2 separate regions of the Homo sapiens genome follow, and region 2 is linked to region 1. Evidence: promoter capture Hi-C in 16 types of primary human blood cells and fetal thymus (Javierre and others, 2016). All regions are on one chromosome and are shown on one strand. Each heading gives the region's core, a stretch centred on a gene start or on the middle of the fragment in contact. The rest is flanking DNA. Distances are from core to core; before and after follow the strand shown. Region 1 holds the start of DNAJC5G (DnaJ heat shock protein family (Hsp40) member C5 gamma). Region 2 overlaps DPYSL5 (dihydropyrimidinase like 5).

Region 1 (3,883 bases), core at 499-2,998:
CACCTGAGGTCAGGAGTTTGAGACCAGCCTGGCCAACATGGCGAAACCCTGTCTCTACTAAAAATACAAAAATTAGCCAGGCGTGGTGGTGCACGCCTGTAGTCCCAGCTTCTCAGGAGGCTGAGGTGAGAGAATTGCTTGAACCTGGGAGGCAGAGGTTGCAGTAAGCCAAGATCGTGCCACTGCACTCTCAATAGTCTCTGTCTCTGCTCTGTGACAGGACGAGACTTCCTCTCAAAAAAAAAAAAAAAAAAAAAGAGTCAGATAGCAAAAGAGATACAGAAAGAAAAAGGTTTAAGGGGGAAATTCCAAGGATCAATAAAGGGCTGAGGTCTGAACCTGTAGGATTTTTTGAAGTCTTCAGGTGAGGCGCCCTTCTTAAGATCCAGCACTGCATAGAGGCTCATCTCACTTTTGGACAGCCGGTGTGCTGCTTCCTTCACAGTAGACATGATCTGAGCCAGAGGAGAAGCAGCATCTGTGAGAACTTCTACAAGTAAGGGTACCGAGAAGTGCACTTCCAGTGACAGGAAACTCACTACCTTCAGGGATTAGGCAGGTAAACGATGACAGAAGGACAAGGATAAGATAAGAGTGAGTGGGATTTGTGGCTAGCAGGAGAATTCAGGTGATCAGAAAGATTCCAATTTTAAGGAGGAAACATCTTCTCCTCACATTTCCCAGCATCCTCCAGCTACACAGACCTCTAGATATCCCACATCCTAGAGGTGTTGTAAGCAGGGAGAGGTCTAAGCCAGGAAAAGAGCCTGATTTTGTCTAGAGCTCCTATTACCTGGAGTAAACACCTCTGGGTCTGTCCAAGCTCACTGCTGGGTTTGAAAGACCAGGGCGGCCCCAGCCTGAACGGACAGGATCAGGAATCAGACAGCTCCACAACTTCTTCTTCTTTTTTTTTTTTTTGACGGAGTTTTTTGCTCTTGTTGCCCAGGCTGAAGTGTAATGGCGCGATCTCGGCTCACTGCAACCTCCACCTCCTGGGTGCAAGCGATTTTCCTGCCTCAGCCTCCCGAGTAGCTGAGATTACAGGTGCACGCCACCACGCCCGGCTAATTTTCTGTGTTTTTAGTAGAGACAGAGTTTCACCATGTTGGTCAGGCTGTTCTTGAACTCCTGACCTCAGGTGATCCACCCACCTCGGCCTCCCAAAGTCCTGAGATTACAGGCGTGAGCCATTGAGCCTCGCCGATCCACAGCTATTAAGAGAGAAACACTTCAGACCAAACCGTGTGAGGCCTAACAGAAGTCAAGTGTCCTAGAGCCTGGCGGGGGCGGGGGCGGGGGCGGGGGCGGGGGTGGGGAGTGCTTGCAGCTAGGCCTGGACTTGCTTCTTCCCTCCAGTCTCCTGCTCTCAAACCACCCCACTTCTGTCCCTCAGAGGTGGGACAGTGGGGAGAGGAGGAAGAGGACTCAGAGGCTGGAGAAGGAAGAGAAAAGGCGTTGCTGTGGGAAAGACCTGGCAAGGAAAAGGCAGCGGAACCCCAGAGAGCAGGGTAGACGCCTGCGGCCCAGGAGAACCGAGCAAGGCAAGGAGCTCAAAGGGAGAGCTCTGAGTGTGCAGGGCACCTCTGGCCCTGTGCCGACTCCTCACCTGGGTCTGGCCCTTTACCTGGGAGTCGTTCTCTTAAGCCAGGTGGGTGCCCTTCATCCTTTTGGGTGTGAAACTTCACACCGGCCGGGTCCAGCAGTTGACTGCGCTTGTGCGCAGCGTCGACGCTGAGGGTCTGGGCAGGTCGTTTTTTGGCGCCCCCGGAAGCACTGGGTGGGGAGGCCACATTGGCCCTGGGACTTATTTCGCGCGCAGGGAAGCGAGAGCGGAGGGCTTAGCAGGCCTGCGGCCCAAGGCAGCGTAGGAGCGTTGCTGCCAGGCCTTGGGGCAGGGATTCCCACCGAGCCCCTCTTCCCCAGCAGGAGGGCACCACCCATCTTGATGGCCCAACTCACTCCAGGAAACACAATGGGTTTGCTGACCGTGGCGGATGAGAGGTATGGCTGCTGCATGCCCTTCTTAAGAGGTGTGTTACCTTCCCAGTTGTCTTCAGGACTTAGGGCTCTCCGCTTGGTCCCTCCTTCTCTTCCACCCGGAAACACCTCCACAACCTGGAAGACCCAACTCATATGCCCCTGTTCCTGACACTCCATCATTCACTCTCCCAGTTGTTCCCACTTCGTCTGTCAAAGCATTTCTCCTAGTATATCGTAATGATGAGTTTGCACGTCTCATTAAAATGATGTATTGAGCCTTTTCCAAAAGTCACTACCGTGCTTCAAAAACGTCACTTAAATATGATGCCATCATGAGCATGTCCCATAATGTAACCCAACTTGGCTGTTTCAGTTGTTTCTATTTGATAATATAATAACCTTATAAGGAAAATTCAACAGAAATCCTTGAACAAATGTCTAATTTTTTTTCCTAAGGATACATTCTTAGAAGTGGAATTATTGGGTCGAAATGATTTTTTTTTTCTTTTTTCTTTTCTTTTTTTTTTACGCTCTTGATCTCTATTGCTAACTTTCTTCTGGAAAGGTAGCAGAAGGAGGATTTGTATCCCCACCTGCTGGCATGGGAGCATGCCTCTACCTGGCTTCCCTTCCTGTGAGTTTCTACAGGAGGTAGTGTTTGCATCACTTATAATTTACTACTTTGTAGTGCTGGTTTTCTTTGCAAGAGCACTCAATGGCTCCTGTAACATGTAGTAGAAAAAGCTTTGTTACTTGGAAAATGCTTATCTGTTAACCTTTTTGTAGCTTTTATCACTCTCTTCCTTTTATTACAGTTATTTGTGCACATTTTCCTCACCTTGTAGGTTTTTTTTGTTTGTTTTGTTGTGTTTTGAGGTGGAGTCTCACTCTGTCACACAGGCTGGAGTGCAGTGGCACAATGTCTGCTCACTGGAACCTCTGCCTTCCGGGTTCAAGTGATTCTCCTGCTTCAGCCTTCCAAGTAGCTGGGATTACAGGTGCCTGCCACCACGCCTGGCTAATTTTTTTTGTATTTTTAGTAGAGACGGGGTTTCACCATGTTGGCCAGGCTGGTTTCGAACTCCTGACCTCAGTGATCTACCCGCCTCAGCCTCCAAAAGTGCTGGGATTACAGGCGTGAGCCATTGCGCCAGCCCCCTTGAAGGCGTGAGCCATTGTGCCAGCCTCCTTGAAGCCATTGCGCCAACCCCCATTGCGCCAGCTCCTTCGAAGGTCACTCACCAAAAAAGAAGCTGAAGCTGATAATGTTTTTTGGTGGTTTGTCTCATGCCAAATTTCTTTAACCCCCAAGCTTTCATGACTCATGGGAGGACAGAACTAGCAGAACAAACCAGCTCATTTCTTCCCCAGCACTGGGTAGAGAGAGCAGAAGGCATTAGAGGTGCACTTGTAAATCAGTATTCCACCTCAAGAACCATCTAAGCAAACGAACTAAGGAGTCCATCTGTAGCAGACGTGATGACTGCTGAATTAATGAATTTATTTCTGTAGGCCTGTGGTCAGTGCAGGGAGAGGGGATGAAGACCTTTGCATTACCCACCTGGTCCATAGTCTCTGGGTCAGATGAGTTTAGAGGTCACTCACTTAAAAAGAAGCTGAAGCTGATAATTTTTTTATGGTGGTTTGTCTCATGCCAGATTTCTTTAACCCCCAAGCTTTCATGACTATCATGGGAGGACAGAACTAGCAGAACAAACCAGCTCATTTCTTCCCCAGCACTGGGTAGAGAGAGCAGAAGGCATTAGAGGTTCACTTATAACGAATTCCTTGCCTCAGTCTGTAAGACCCAGCGTGGTCCTGCCCCTCCCTCTCCAATCTTTTCTGGAACCACTGTCCTACTTGCTCTGGGCTCTGCTCCACCGCTTTCCTCTTTCCTGTT
Region 2 (3,883 bases), core at 942-3,441, 370 kb after region 1:
GACTGAACTGTAAAAGCTAAAATTACAAACTTCTAAAAGAAAACATAGGGGAAAATCTTAGAGACCTTGGATTCTGAAAAAATTTCTTGATTATAGCACAAAAAGCATGAAGTAGAAATAAAAAAATCGATAAATTGGACTTCAAAATTAAAAACTACTGCTCTTCAAAAAACACTTAAGAAAATGAAAAAGTAAGTAACAGACTGGGAGAAAAATTTGCAAAACATATATCTAATAAATGGCTTGTAATTAGACTATATAAACAACTTTTGGGCTGGGTGTGGTGGCTCACACCTGTAATCCCAGCACTTTGGGAGGCTGGGGCGGGCAGATCAACTGAGGTCAATCATTCAGGACCAGCCTGGCCAACTGGTGAAACCCTGTCTCTACTAAAAAAAAAAAAAAAAAAAGAAGAAGAAGAAAGAAAAAAAGAAAACAACTCTTATATTCAGATTTTTAAAAGCCAACAACTTACTAAAACATGGGTAAAAGGTGTGAGCAGACACTTCACTGAAAACATATAGAAGGCATATAGGCACATGTAAAGACATTCAACACTAGTCACTAAGGAAATGCACATTGTAACCACACTGAGATACCACTACACACCTATTAGAACGGCTAAAATTAAAAAGACTGACCACAACAAGTGGTGGGAATGATATGGAGTCACTACTGATGGGGAAAAAAAAATTGTTACAACCACTTTGGAAACCAGGTGGCAATTTCTTAAAAAGCTAAATGTAGACCTACCATAAAACAGACACATTCCACTTCCGGGTAATTACCCAAGGGAAATAAAAGCCTATGTCCACACAAATATATGTATATGAATGTTCACAGTAGCTTTATCTTTAACAGCCAAAAACTTAATACTACTGAGCGAAAGAAACCAGACAAAAAAAGGAATGCATATCGCATTGCTCCATTTATATAGAAATAGTAGAAAATGCAAACTAATCTATAGTGACATAAAATAGTGGTAACCTGGGGTGAGAGCTGGGGGAAAATTACAGGAACACAAAGAAACTTTCAGGAATGGTGGATATGTTTATTATATTGTGATGGCTTCTTGATGTATGTATATGTCAAAATGTATCAAACTGTATACTTTAAAATGTGCAGCTTATCAAACATTAATTATACCTTTTTTTTTTAAAGGTGGCTTCCCAGGTTACCTAATCATGTTCTCCTCTTTCTAGACATATTCTTCCCAACAGTGGAGTTCACTAACATTTACCAATTTTTTTTTTGTTTTTAGACAGGGTCTTGTTCTGTCACTGGAGTGCAGTGGCATGATCATAGCTCACTGCAGCCTCAAACTTCTGAGCTCAAGTGAGCTCAAACTCCTCCTGCCTCAGCCTCCCTAGTAGCTAGGTCTATAGGTACACACCATCATGCTTGGCTAATTTTTGTATTTTTTGTAGAGATGGGGTTTCACTATGTTGCCTAGGCTGGTCTTAAACTCCTGGCCTCAAGTGATCCTCTTGCCTTGGCCTCCCAAAGCTTTGGGATTACAGGCGTGAGCCACCGAGCCACTGAGCCCCGCCTTGTTTAATTTTATTTTAAAATATTAATTGAGAATACTGTGGATCGTTTAAGTCTAAACAGGAAAATTATTTATGAATTAGGGGTAGTATTTATTAATCTCTAATGGTACTTCCAGCTCTAAAATTGTGTGTGTGAGAGCGAGTGTGAATGTGAGATGGTGTGTGTGATGTGTGTGCAATATGAGTGAGAAACAATGGTCAGTGAGAACGTTCTTACAGTAGTTGGCCCACAGTTTTATATTCGTTTAGTTACTAATTAAAGATCCTTATAGGGCTTCAGTTTTAGTCAACAAGAAACAAAAAAGCATCAGAAGGAGAGAAAAATGTGGCTGGCTGCAGTAATCACCCAAGGGAACAATGAGGCTGAAACTATCCAGGGGAGATGATCTGGCACCTACGCAAATTTCTACCTGTAAATGAACCAAGATATGTCCCTTATTTTCAACACAAATATGGCAACTTCAAAGGTAACCTCTGTGAGGTTTGGGAGAACAGATATTTCCAATTGAGAAAAGGCCATATTCAAATATTTCTTGAAATATTAAAAAAGATACAAGCTTAATTTAAGAAAAGAAAAAGAGGAAGAAGGGAGAAAAATGGAAGAAGACAGAAAAATGGCATTCATGTGCAATATGTATCATTGAAGTGCACATACAGTATATATTTTTCTTCTTCCTTTTTTCCTTTTATAAATTCCAGTGGATGACAGCATAAAGCAAAGCTTCTTGTACTAAGCACGAAAGATTGCCAAGACACTTGGCCTCAATCACAGAGGGTGTATTTATTTTATTCTGAATCAAAGGTTTTAAAAATGCAATAATCTGCATTGATAAATTCTTTGCAAACACTATTCTAGAAGTTGAGGAGCTGCTTGGTCACCATAGGAGGTTTTTTCCCAATACCAGAGATACAAATTTATAAGAAACGATAGATCTCCTCATTCACATCAGTTCTAAGAAGGATCAACCTGGCCTACATTTTGGCCTACCAATTAATGTACACGTAGAATGAAAGTTGCCAGCAAGGTTTTGTTAAGCAAGTAGCTGGTTTGAAGCAGGACACCTTTAAATAGCTCCTGATGCCTGCAGAGTTTATTGCTGGCTATTTCTGCCTTTAAGAGAAAGAGAGAAGACAGAAAATTATCTAGAATTTATCACTATTACTATCAGACTCTGTTTGAAATCTAAAACACACACAGAAATTCGAACGCTAGGAATGAAATCCAGTTCTTTCAGTTCCTATTTGATGCTTAACTGTTTTATATGTATGCTCGTACAAATGGATTTTTAAGGGATCTGACTTTGATCAACATGATCTATTTATTTATTTAACAAACATTCACATAATGCTTAATAAGCACCAAGTATTCTTTTAAGTTCTTTACAAATAATAACTCAATTAGCACTTTTAAAGACATACGACAATGGAGGAACAGAGAGATTAACTTGCCCACATGACATAGCAAGCAAATGTGGAGCTGAAATCCGAACTCCAGCATTCATAGCCCCAGTCTGTGCTGATAACTCCCACTCCATGCTGACATCCATTTCTTGGATGTCGACTACACCGTTAGGGCTACGCGGGCTCTGTGGCTAGTCACAAGTTAAATCGTGGTCTCTGCTCCTCAAAGGGTCTTCAATCTTGTTGAGAAACAAACTTAACATGGGAAACAATTTGAAAGCCCTAGGATGACAAGTTATTTCAGCTGGCGAGAAGAAAGTGACATCCTGGAGCTGGGTTAGCTGGAGGAGGAGTGCCACGAGAGGCTGTTCGCCTTGAAGGAGGGGCTCTGTGCAGGGGTGGAGAGAGATGGCAACAGGCAGCATGGGGTGTCCATGGAGGGCATCTTCCTGATGGATGGGTGCGTGTGGGGAGCAGCTGGCCATGATGGGTCGATGGGAGGGCAAGGTCAGATCAGGGGTTGCCCAGGGGGAAGATCCATACATCCAAACTTGATGTCTTAGACAACAGGGAGCCATTGCAGGGACACGACATCAGGCATAGAGAGAGCCGTGAGATGAAGGGGGGCCAAGGTGATTTTTTATTTTAAAAATGTAAATGTGGGCTGGGCGCAGTAGCTCATGCCTGTAATCCCAGCACTTTGGGAGGCTGAGGCTTATGGATCACTTGAGGTCAGGAGTTCGAGACTAGCCTGACCAACATGGAGAAACTCCGTCTCTACTAAAAATACAAAATTAGCTGGGCATGGTGGCGGGCGCCTGTATTCCCAGTTACTTGGGAGGCTGAGACAGGGGAATTGCTTGAACCCAGGAGGCGGAGGTTGCAGTGAGCCAAGATTGCACCACTGCACTCCAGCCTGGGTGACAGAGCAA

What was found. Contacts are between HindIII fragments. The CHiCAGO score rates a contact against its expected background, and 5 or more counts as called.
Region 2: a contact is called between a fragment that was not itself captured here and the fragment with the promoter of DNAJC5G in region 1, in 1 of 17 cell types (naive B cells). The highest score is 5.3, in naive B cells.

The regions. Positions count from the first base shown.
Region 1 is chr2:27,273,298-27,277,180 of GRCh38, reverse strand. DNAJC5G (DnaJ heat shock protein family (Hsp40) member C5 gamma) reads right to left here and starts at 1,748. Exons shown (of 7, transcript NM_173650.3): 1 at 1,628-1,748; 2 at 794-1,075; 3 at 340-455. The coding sequence starts at 452. It also overlaps a transcript of SLC30A3 not described here. The HindIII fragment of the contact is 3,678 bases long and covers 1-2,729 here.
Region 2 is chr2:26,907,144-26,911,026 of GRCh38, reverse strand. The region is part of intron 2 of DPYSL5 (dihydropyrimidinase like 5); the gene reads right to left. Among named protein-coding and RNA genes, the nearest start is that of DPYSL5, 61 kb to the right of the region's middle. The HindIII fragment of the contact is 164 bases long and covers 2,110-2,273 here.